Linked DNA regions of Homo sapiens: region 2 is linked to region 1. The links are contacts of gene promoters, found by promoter capture Hi-C in human tissues and cell types (Jung and others, 2019). All regions are on one chromosome and are shown on one strand. Each heading gives the region's core, a stretch centred on a gene start or on the middle of the fragment in contact. The rest is flanking DNA. Distances are from core to core; before and after follow the strand shown.

Region 1 (6,254 bases), core at 2,550-5,049:
CTTGCTGTATTAGTCTGTTCTCACACTGCTATGAAGAAATTCCTGAGACTGGGTAATTTATAAAGAAAAGGGGTTTAATTGACTCACAGTTCTGCATGGCTCGGGAGGCCTCAGGAAATGTATAATCATGGCAGAAGGCACCTCTTCACAGGGTGGCAGGAGAGAGAATGAGTGCAAGCAGGAGAAAATGCCAGACGCTTATAAAACTATCAGATCTCCTGAGACTCACTCATTATCACAAGAACAGAATGGGGGAAACTATCCCCATGATCCAATTACCTCTACCTGGTCCTGCCCTTGACACATGGGGATTATTACAATTCAAGCTGAGATTTCCTTGTTCCTCTTCATATTCACTGGGATCTTGCTTCGTGGCCCGAGCTAGACCTGGGATTCCAGTGAAGCGAGGGCTGGGAGTGAGACTGAGATAGGAGAGAGTTCCTGGGGCCCCAGGGTAGGGATTCTGTACTCTGAGGAAGGGATTTCCTGCCAGCACTAATACTTGGGAGTATTTTAGTCCCTTAAAGGCCCTTGTTACCTTCTCTCTTGGTTCCAAGAGGCTGATCTGTCTTTTCCTCTTTCCAATGTCACTACTCATAGTTTCTACCCAACCCTCCTTAGACCATGATGGAAGAGAACAAATCTTAACAGCCTCTCAATTCTGTATACTTTTAATGAGCTTAACTTTGAGCCAGGTACTGTGCTTATAAAGACAGAAAGATACATAAGACAAAGCTTCTGTTCAACAAGAATTAATAATCTAGTAAGGAGCAGAAATGGTGAGAGGAGCTAGGTAACTACTGTATATAGGGTATACTGTGACCAAAGCCACAATGAGTTGAGGCGTCACAAGAGAAACCTCATGCCTTTTTTAAAAGGTTAAAAAAAAGTCTTCCTCTATTTCAAGAAGAAATGATGCTCATAAATGCTGATAATAAATCCTGGTACATGAAGACTTGTAATGGATTGCTTTACATAAATCTAGATGGGTGAAAGGGAGGAAGAGGGTGGAGAGAGGAGTCTTCGTGAATTTACCCTTCATTTTCAATTCTTGGGGGTGGGGAGCAGGAAAACCTCTCTGCAATTTAAAACTAGCTATGGGTAGTCCAAAAAGGGGCCCTTTCTCCATCATTAAAATAGCTTCCTGATGACACATTTTTCTTCTCTCCTCTAATCAGAGGATCCACTTCTTGGTTGTTGCAACACTTTGGGATACAGTGGGATGGATTATAGGAACCAATAACTTGGCCTGACTTCCATATAATATATTTTCTCAAGACTGTCTAAACCACCATTTGTCAAAATAATAAGTGATCAAAAAGAAAGAAAAGATTAATGCTATTTCTGTTATCTGCAAAGAGATGTTATATATACAGTTGGTGCAAAGTAATCACAGTTTTTGTCATTGATTCTAAAACTGCAATTACTTTTGTACCAACCTAATACATATATACACACATATAAAAATACGTTTATACATGCATAGGTGTATATATATATACATACATACACCTATGTATGTTTTCAGGTTGTTTTTTTTTTGGCTCCTCCTCTACATTGACTATCTCCTCAGATCCTTCTCACCATTACCTGAAGCATACAAAAATGAAGTCTAAAAGCCATGATTTCTTGTGAAAAGAGGAAACAGAAAAGTAATTAGTAAAGAAAGTTTGGACTGGAACCCAGATCTTTTTTTTTTTTTTTTCAGCTCACTACAACCTCCGCCTCCTGGGTTCAGGCGATCCCTCCCACCTCCACCTCCCAAGTAGCTGGGATTACCAGCATGTGCCACCACACCTGGCTAATTTTTGTATTTTTAGTAGAGACAGGTTTCACCATGTTGGCCAGGCTGGTCTTGAACTCCTGGCCTCAAGTGATCTGCCCGCCTTGGCCTCCCAAAGTGCTGGGTAATATTACAGGCATTAGCCACCTTGCCAGGCCTGGCACCCAGATCTTGAGAGATGTAAATTGGCTGTCTTTTCACAAGGCTACACTCTCATGCTGATGTCCATTCCTTCATGCAACCAGTCCAAAATGCTCGCTACATCACCTTCCCCATACACATCTCTCCCCTCAAATCTTCCTGTGGCCCCTTTCTCATCTCCACTAACACTGAAATACTGAAGTCTATTCGATTACCAACCTTCTTCCTCTCTAAAAATATCTTCCTCTTCACTTCTTATTTTTTATTATTTTTATTTATTTTTTTTTTCTGAGACGGAGTCTCGCTCTGTCGCCCAGGCTAGAGTGTAGTGGTATGATCTCAGCTCACTGCAACCTCCACCTCCTGGGTTAAAGCAATTTTCCTACCTCAGTCTCCCGAGTAGCTGGGATTACAGGCATGCGCCACCACGCCCAGCTAATTGTGTATATTAGTAGAGACGGGGTTTCACCATGTTGGCCAGGCTGGTCTTGAACTTCTGACCTCAAGTGAGCCACCTGCCTCGGCCTCCCAAAGTGCTGGGTTTACAGGTGTGAGCCACCGTGCCCAGGCTCTCTTCACTTTTTGTACACACTCATCCTGCACTGTCTCTGCTGAACTTTACACACTGACTTCTATGGAGTGACCACGTCATGCAGTACCGAGAAATGAGTCTTAAAAAAAAAAATTAGAGTCATGTTCAAATGAGCAATCTGCCTCTTACCATTTATGCGACCTTAGTAATGTTACTTAACCTCTCTAGCCTTACTTTTCCCTTCTGCAAAGAGAAAATAATTCCTAACTCACTGGGTTTTTGTTTTTGTTTTTGAGACAGGGTCTGGCTCTATTGCCAAGTCTGGAGTTCAGTGGTACGATCACGGCTCACTGCAGCCTCTTGACCTCCCAGGCTCAAGCGATCCTACCACCTCAACCCCCAGAATAGCTGAGACTACAGGCATGTGTCACCACGCCCGACTAATTTTTAAAATTTTTTGTAGAGACGGGGTCTCATTCATTGAGTTTTAAAAGGAAGCAAGCATATGTAAGGCGCTTAACACAGTATCGTGTACTTAAAAGGCACTTAATAAACAGTAGCTGTTACTATGAAAATAATATTTACCTCACAAAACTGTTCCTACATGCCTGACGCTTAAGTAGCTCCTCAAAATATGATAGTTTTCCTCTTCCCCCGTCCTTGGAAAAACTTTCTAGTTCTTTCCAACAAAGATTCAGCACCTAGTTCAAATCCAACAAAGATTTCCCCAATTCTGCTGCAAAGGCATTTGTATATTTACTAAAATCTCAACACTCACGCAGGATAAAACCTACTTAGAACTACCCAGACATCCTTTCTTATCTTCTTAACTTTAAGTCACTGGAAGAAAACCATCACATTTTGCAAGTCCCCAAAAAGCATGCCTGCATAAAAGCTCTAGGGAAGGGAACCGGGTGTCCAGATGCATTTCAGAATTACCATAGGTTTCCTTGCTCGGCATACAGAATAAATGTTGGTTACACTAATGATACAACCGAAGTTGGGGAAAAAAACTTCAGACAATGGCCCGCAAATCTCAAGGAGTAATTGCGAAAAGATGCCACGTGGTGACGTGTTCTAGGCGGGTGATCAGTGAACAAATTTGTATGTGTGATCCTGTGGTGTGTGAATGTGTCATCGTGTGTGCCTGCGTGTGTTCGTAAACACTGAAAGTACAGTCGTGTGCGCCGAGAAGTCTGAGCGCGGGTGCGCATCCCTTTGGACCCGGGTGCGTACCTAGTGAGCAACCGTGCGAACCCTCACGGGGCTCTCCTCCACGCGCTTACCTCTGCGGACGAGCAGGTGGACGCCACTGGGCGCCGCCATGTTGGCGTCGGTCACGTGGCCGCGAGCACTCGCTCGCCGCCCCGCCCGCTGGAGCCGGCCAGTCGCAGCCCTGCCGAAGCCCTGAGGCGTCGAGGCCGCCCGAGGGGAGCGCGCGTGCGCGCGCGGGGCTGACTGCGGGAGCCCTGGCTGGGAAGCGGCTAGGGCACCCGGGCAAGCAGCAGAACCCGCGGCCGGCTGAGTCCTCTCCAGCCGCGAGAGGCGGGCTCCAGCCGCGGCTCGCGCGCTCGCTCTGAGCCCCCGCGCCCAGGTGGGATGGAAGAAGCCTGTCAGGTAAGCGTGGCATCCAATATTTATAGCATCAACATTTTGGTGCATGGAAACGTGAAGTTGGGCGGAAAAAATAAAGCACAATCTAGTGTTCAACATAGCACTTTGTATCGTCTGCCACTCTGTTGCAAATTATTCCCCTGGATTCAGTTGAAAGGTAAAATTTGGTTCAAAGTCACCAGCTCCCCTTTTGCTGTCCCAGAATCTACATTACTCAGCAGAGACTCCAGACAACACAGGATCTGTGTGTCGCTGCAAAATCTATTCTAGGTACCCCAGTGGGTATGTTCAGGAGACTTCTCTTTCTCCAAGGACGCCTTCTGCTTGGCAGTATTAACTGGAGTCTTAATCCTAAATTTGGAGTTTAAGTATAAAAGGATGACGCCTGCCAATTGCATTGCCAAGAGAAGAAGCCTACAGAAGGCCAATTGTGAATCAGATGAGGGAGCTGATGTATGCCTACTGATGACGGTGCCCATTTTTACCAAATTCACTGTCTCTCTTACCTGTGTTCTGGGGTAGATGCCATCCTGTCATGGACCAGGTGTTATTCATCTTAGTAGCCTCCGTGCCCGGCACAGAACCCGATACCCGAGGAATGTCAGGTGAAGCAATTGAACACTGCATGAAACCAGTCAAACTGAGAATGTAACCGTTTCCAGACTTTAAATGCAGTGAAGATTGATTAGGATTCTCAGTGAATGTGTGTGATGTCTTCTAATTAATTTTTAAGCACTACACACTCAGTGAATAATCTAGACAATTCAGAACAATTCAGAAATAAGGAACAAGTGCAAGCCCCTTCCTCGCCCTCTGTACATACCATAGTCCCACTCCCCAGTTAACCACCGTGTGCTCAATTGAGATCTTTGCCTTTTACACACAGGCAAATGTAAGTATTTTAAATAGAATCATATGACTTGCTTTTTCCATTCCAGTCATCATAGGCATCAAATCTTAGAACACTTAGTTCAGACTTATTCTTTTTAATGACTATATAATCTTGATATTTTTACTTTTAAAGAGAGTGAATGTTGGCATTTCATTAGAGGACACATGCTATAATTCTGGAAAACCTGGTTTTGGATGCTTTTGGGTCACCTTGAAAGATAAAGAGAAGTAATGCTTTCCATCAGGGTAAATAAGATGCACAAGAATGAGAATAAAATGTACTCCTACCTTTTGCAAACTCATTTCAATTCCAGGGAGAGCATTTTTGAATGTGGCAAATCTGTCCTCTGTGTAACTGAGGCCAGCAATCTGAGTGCAGCAAAGGAGCCTGAGAGTTAGCTGGCCACAGAGTCTTAAGCAGTGTACAGAAAAAAGAAATCTAGACATCCCTATTCCTTAAGGCATCAAGCCTAGTTTCAAACCCATCTGAAATAGAACACATGTTCATGTGACTTAACTCAGCCAACCCTTGGAAAATAAATGAATGCTTTATTCCCCTACAACTAAAAGGAAAAGGAAACACTATGAGGACCCAGGTGGCACCAGCAGTAGTGGAATCCAGTGAGGAAATCCTCAATAAGTTCGGCATGGAATGTAGATATCTGGGATGAGCTAGAAATGAAGCAAATATGAACTTGCACAGGTGATAGCTCATCCACTGACCCTGGATCTGGCTTCTCTCATACACATCCTTCTCACCGCAGAAGGGTTAAAAGCTGCCAGCACATGTCCGCCAAAACCATCAACTTATGGGATATAAGCTGGGTGTGGTGGCTCATGCCTGTAATCCCAGCACTTTGGGAGGCGAACGCAGGCAGATCACTTGAGGTCAGGAATTCGAGACCAGCTTGGGCAACATGGTGAAACCTGTCTCTACTAAAAATACAAAAATTAGCCAGGCATGGTGGTGCATGCCTGCAATCCCAGCTACTCAGAGGCTAAGGCGGGAGAATCACTTGAACCTGGGAGGCAGAGTTTACAGTGAGCCGAGATCCTGCCACTGCACTCCAGCCTGTGCCACAGAGGAAGATTCTCTCAAAAAAAAAAAAAAAAGGGATATATACATAGTGACCAACAAGATAAAGGGCTAGATCACTGATATCTAGGATCCCTTGCAATTTTAACATTCTGTGATCTTGAGCATTAGAGTGCTTTTATTTAGATGAGTAACCGCTACTGAGTCACTTCTCTACTCCATTTCTGTCCGTGCTCCTATCTGTGAAATGAAGGTTA
Region 2 (5,962 bases), core at 905-3,404, 1.0 Mb after region 1:
CTAAATTAGCCAAGTACAGTGTGTACACCTGTAGTCCCAGGTACTCAGGAAGCTGAGGCGGGAGGACAGCTTGAGCCCAGGAGTTAAAGGCTGCAGTGAACTATGATTGTGCTCCAGCCCAGAGAGCAAGACGCTGTCTCCAAACAAACAAACAAAACCCTGCAATTCTCACTGGACTGGGATTTAGAGAAATAAAGATTAAATAATTTATAGTGATCAATTATGGCCTTTCAGAGGTAGCTACATTTGAAAACAAGGTGCTTATTGGTCAAAGTAATTAAGTGGTAATAGACAATGCACTTGAGGCAACAGCAAGACCCTGGGCAAACTTAAAGACAGCCTAAGAATGAAATTAAGAGAAATAAGATTTAATAAATGAAATGTGGTCAGCCTCTGAGGAAGGAATAAAAACAGAAGCACAAAAAGACCAAATGCATGGTCAGAGGCAGACTGACGAAAATGTTCTGTATGGGCCTAGCTAATGCAATGGCCAACTGACAGTATTAAACACATCAAAAGAAAAAATGTCTTCCAAAGAATGTAGCCAAATTTAGTTAACATAATTAAAAATGAAAGAATATGTGATGTTCTTTGCTGTTGGTCTTCACTGTCCACAGAATCTCTTCCTCCAGTTTGATTCCATGCTCAGCAGGCACTCTTGTGGTACTAATCTGACCTGAGTATTCTTCTAACTAGAGAGGGGGTATTTTTCTATTGCAAACTGAAAATTTGTCATTCAAATATAGCAGCTTCTCTGCAAATGTAGTTTATATGAGGAAGTGCCTCTTGTAATGAATAAATTTTGAATGCCTCGAATAGATCCTATTTCTGGGCATTTACAAACCTGGGCAATGGACAATGATAATTTGATCAAGTATTGCCCCATATAGGCCAGACTCTTGGATGACACATCTATCTTACTTTTCTCAAACTGCAACAAGTTAGAATACTTGTGGCGAAACATTCAGCTGGAGAATCTCAGGTAGTGTGGGTAAAGATACTGTGAGCAAACGGAAGCTTTTCCTGCCTGCAGCAACTAAGTTATCCTTTTCCCAGCATGGGATTAGAACTTTTGAAAACATGTGGAATGTTTCCAAATTCTAGGCTTTTCTATAATTATGGCTTATGCGCAATAATTTCTCAATTAAAAAGAAATGCTGTTAGCTCTTAGGTTAGTAAAGAAAAGGACTATAGTATATATACTATGTTCCCTAGATATGTACTTTAAAAAAATTGGTTTCAATATTCTAGACTAGCTCTTCCCTTTTTTTTAAGAGGAGTCTTAAAATAAACCAGTAATTTCTTTCAAAATAAAAACAATCAATGTCTGCAACATATCTGACTGGTATGTTTAAGCAGTCATAACTTAGTCTAAAAAATGACCTTACCTGCCTTCTCCACCCCATGCAGAATTTGGTGTAATAATCACTTCTCGACAGTTATCAGTGTCTGTGTTGTACACATACAGTTTCAATGGTTTTGCTTCATGTGTTTCGATAAGGCTGAATAGATCTTCAGACTGCAAAAGTGTCACAGGAGAAAATGTTTCACGTTACCATACTTTGGAACAGTGTGTCTCAAACCTGGCTATCAGAATCACCTGAGAAATCTAAGAAAAAAATACAGATTCTGGGCCCTGCCCCAGACATAAAAATCACAAGCAGGTTTAATTCAATATATTAATTCAAGCAAAGCCTACTTACTACATACAAGGCTTTATGGCCAGTTCCTTAAGATCTAGTTGGCACTCTTAGTACAATTCTTTTACACCCGAGTTCTACATATTCTGCTTTTACTTCCCATTATTAAGACCTGGTTGTCTGGGCACCTCATTTCTCACTCTTTTTTTTTTCTTCTTTTTTTGAGACAGGGTCTCTCTAACTGTTGCCTGGGCTAGAGTGCAGTGGCATGATTTTGCCTCACTGCAGCCTCAACCTCTCAGGCTCAAGTGATCCTTCCACCTCAGCCTCCCAGGTAGCTGGGACTATAGGCATGCACCACCATGCCTGGCTAATTTTTGTATTTGTTGTAGAGACAAGGTCTCACTATGCTGCCCAGACTGGTCTCGAACTCCTGAGCTCAAGTAATTCTCCCATCTCGGCCTCCCAAAGTGCTGAGATTATGGGCATGAGCCACTGTGCCCAGCCTTTTCTCTCATTTTTGATTTAGCAATGTATACTTCCGCTAGCTAAGAGACAAGGAAAAGGATGTAATATAGCTGAGCTAATGCTGTCACTGAACAAAAAGGGGAAGAGAAAATGAAATCAATGAACAATTGAAAATGAGAATTTGATTTAGACTTCAGGTATGCAAAGATTTCTGTATATTACACATAAAATCTGTGCAATTGCCGCACAGTATGTGTTTTTCCTCACAGCTATACCTAATAAGACACCTACCAGATGTTCCATTTAACACCCTGAGGCTTAAGTTATTTTTGATCAGCAAAGACTGAAATTTTAACTCTAAATGCAAAGCATGCAAATATCTTTCTCAACTCAAACCTCAATGAGAAAATTTTATATAGTTCTCACTATGAATAAACACACGAATTACCTCATTCATGACTGTATCTGCTCCAATTATATAATCACTGTGTGGTCTAAGACCTGCCAGTGCTGCAGGAGAATTTGATTCCACCTCCTAGAATGACATAAACACACACCCTAAAATTAATATATATAAAATAATCTTCCAAGGTTTATAGTCCAATTTTTAATTATGTTGATTTTTTAAATCTGTATACTTCTGTCTTGCTAGAGATGTGTCAGATGTCAGAAACTACAGAATATATTTTAAACTTCTGAGCATAAAAATTACATAATATTTAACAAATATTTAAAATATTTTTGTAGCTATCTACTCTAACACATCTTATAATGAATAAATCATTAGAAAAAGTTCTTAAACTTGTACATTTGCTTCTCTTCCTCAACTTAAAAAAAAATTGATCCATACTTAAAAAGCAATGAACGCTGATTTTTGGCAAAAATTGCCTATTAATAATATCCTTACAATCTTATTAAGCCAGAAACAACCATTGTTAAAACATCTTTCCACACTGCTTCATGAACCTCCAGTAACAGTTCACAGTTGATACGTACCAGCACATGCCAAACATTTTCATTTGCCCCATCAAAGCTGCAGAAACGAATGCTCACTCCCAATAAGCCCTGGCCGCCCCACAGGTTACTTGGTGTGACTGAGGTCTCTCGCAGTTCCAATGTTTTGCTGCTATAGATAAGCATCTTTACAGGCTTTTCAACGTTTGCTTTCAGCAGATCCTTAAGAGTGTCATTGTCTTTATTCTGTGAACACATAGAAATCACATTCCTTAGTAAATAAAAATTTAATGTTAGCTTAAGCATCCTATGGCCCTATAAGAGTAATATTAATAATCAACATAAATAAAACATTCAACAAAGGTTTCACCAACATTTAAATTTTCTTCTATGTAAAAGAATGTCAAGAAATTAAGAACTCTTACGTTAGCAACAACTTGAAACTGACTTTTTTCTAATAGCTCATTATGGATTATGGAATTTGCAACCCAACATTATTTAGAATGATCTAGGGCTTCAATGTGTAAAAACAAAATATGCCATAAGAAGTCACATTACTAACGAAGTTGTGATGACTTTGATTATAAAAATCTAAAACATTTACTGGGGTTAACGTTTAATTTTGGACTCTATTTCTAAATACATGCTTTATTAAGAGCTGGATAGAAAAGAAAGTAGAAACAGCATATTAAATATTTCATTTCATAAACAAATAAAGGCCAGATGTTGGCCTTTATTTATATGTCAGAGATGTTGTAAGTAATGAACGAAAACTTAAGACTGTTACGAAAAATTAAACCAACCAAGTGGCTACTGTCCTAAGAATTTGCTGAGATTATATAATTTCTTTATCTTAGAACTTTATTATGGGTAAACTCTAAACAAGGTATAAAAAGTGGTTTTAATTTGGTACTTTGGAGCACATCTCTCTGTCTGGTTCTAATAACATTATTCATATATTGTGAAACTTAGCACCAAGAAAACTGACGAGTTTGAGAGAATGAGATGAGAGAATGAATCTTTCTAGTAATCCATTTGTCAACAACCAACAGAAGTCTGACATCTTTAAAAAGCAATCTTTTACATCTTAATTATTTCTTTCTGCTTATAAAAATTAAATATTTAACATATAAAAGACTCCACTGATTCTAGAGACTTCCCTAAGATAATCAGTGGAGCATAAGGTATAATATTATAGATATTTCAATGTTTATTAATACATGATTATTTCTATAAATTGGCATACTACACATAATGATTGTAACTAATAAATACCCATCTCAGGTCATCTGAAAAATTCCATTTTTGAGAGATTACAAATACTATAGACAAAACTACAGAAAGTTGAACTTACTAATCTTGAACCATTAATAGAAACAATAAAATCAAAGAAAGGCTCCAAACCAGCTCTGTGTCCTGGGGAATTTTCTTGTACCTGCGGAAACAAAAACGACAAAAATAAAAAATGTAAAGCTTAGGTGAAAATTGTAAGCCGAATCTCTCTTTTCAGTAAAAATAGACCAATTTCACTGATAATGAAATACAGTACACGCTAGTTCTCTCATTTCTCTTCATCTCTCCCAGATAATGCCCGTCCAGCTCCCTAAACTCTACCCATTCTTTAAGTTAATCTTCTATTTATATTTTTATTTTATTTCTTTGAGACAGACTCCACCTCTGTTGCCCAGGCTGGAATGCAGTGGCACAATCTCGGTTCACTGCAACCTCTGCCTCCCTGATTCAAGCGATTCTTGTGCCTCAGCCTCCCGAGTACCTGGGAGGACTATAGGTGCGTACCACCATGTCCAACTAATTTTTGTATTTTTTGTAGAGACAGGGTTTCGCCTTATTGCCCAGGCTGGTCCTGAACTCCTGGGCTCAAGGGATCCACCTGCCTCAACCTCCCAAAGTGCTGGGATTACAGGTGTGAGCCACTGCACCGGGCCTAGTTCATCTTCTATATGAGGTTTTCCCTCTGTGGTTCTATTTCTGCACCACTTTCTCCTTTTTTGGGAGAAAGGGGCTAATCCTCTCAGCAATTAGCAGGGGACACAGCAGACAGTCACTACAATTAAGTGACAAATTCAAGCAATTATTCCTTGACTACTACTAGCAAGGCACCACTCAGTTACAAAGCAAATACAGGCACATAGTCACGTATGTCAAGACATTTATAATCTGTTGAGGAATAGGTGAGAAGAGGAAGGGGCAATGGATACACAGCCCTCTAATCACTATAATGTAAAACCAAACAGGCTAAAGGCTATTTGGTATAAGGTTCTAAGGGAAAGATTAATTCTGACTGAAGAAGCTTCAGACATAAAAAGTGATAAGGAATTGTGGTTTAAAAAGAGGGTAGAACATTCAAAGGTAAAGATGGTCAAGGGGGTAGGAAGGACATCTGAAAATGGACAAAACAGTATGAGTAAACACCCGAAGCAGGAGTCTGAAGAATGAGGATCACAGCATGCGTAGCTAGACAACAGAGTAGTGTGGACAGAAATAGAGAATTATAGACTTTGAAAACTAGGATTAACCCAGAAATCCTCTAATCCAGGGATCTTAAATTGAGGTCTGTGGATGGCTTCAGAGAATACTACAGCTCCTGAAATTACACACTATCTTTTATATGAATAAGCAGTTTTCAGGGTGTAAATATTGGTGGCTTTCATCAGATTCTCAAAGGGTTTCTCCATAACTCCAAGAAGGTTTAAAAACCAGGGATTTTGTGCAATTCTTTCATTTGATAGGTTAAAAAAAATTACCATGTCTTGCTTATGATTCCATAGCTGCCTAATGGTGGAAGTTAAACTCAAAAATTCATCTTTTTTATTTTTATTTTTTGAGACAAGAGTCTTGCTCTGTTGCCTAGGCTGGAGTGCAGTGACACAATCTCGGCT

What was found. Contacts are between HindIII fragments. The study calls those that stand out against the background at their distance.
Region 2: a contact is called between a fragment that was not itself captured here and the fragment with the promoter of METAP1D in region 1, in 1 of the 25 tissues and cell types used here (lymphoblastoid cells).

Annotation. Positions count from the first base shown.
Region 1 is chr2:171,997,498-172,003,751 of GRCh38, reverse strand. METAP1D (methionyl aminopeptidase type 1D, mitochondrial) reads right to left here and starts at 3,799. Exons shown (of 10, transcript NM_199227.3): 1 at 3,743-3,799. The coding sequence starts at 3,782. It overlaps LOC124905590 (a long non-coding RNA gene), which reads left to right and starts at 3,843. Exons shown (of 3, transcript XR_007087296.1): 1 at 3,843-4,073. RefSeq lists a silencer at 3,805-4,104. The HindIII fragment of the contact is 22,489 bases long and covers 1-6,254 here.
Region 2 is chr2:170,946,885-170,952,846 of GRCh38, reverse strand. GORASP2 (golgi reassembly stacking protein 2) reads right to left here. Exons shown (of 10, transcript NM_015530.5): 2 at 4,417-4,497; 3 at 3,105-3,308; 4 at 2,557-2,643; 5 at 1,389-1,519. Among named protein-coding and RNA genes, the nearest start is that of GORASP2, 21 kb to the right of the region's middle. The HindIII fragment of the contact is 5,600 bases long and covers 1-4,954 here.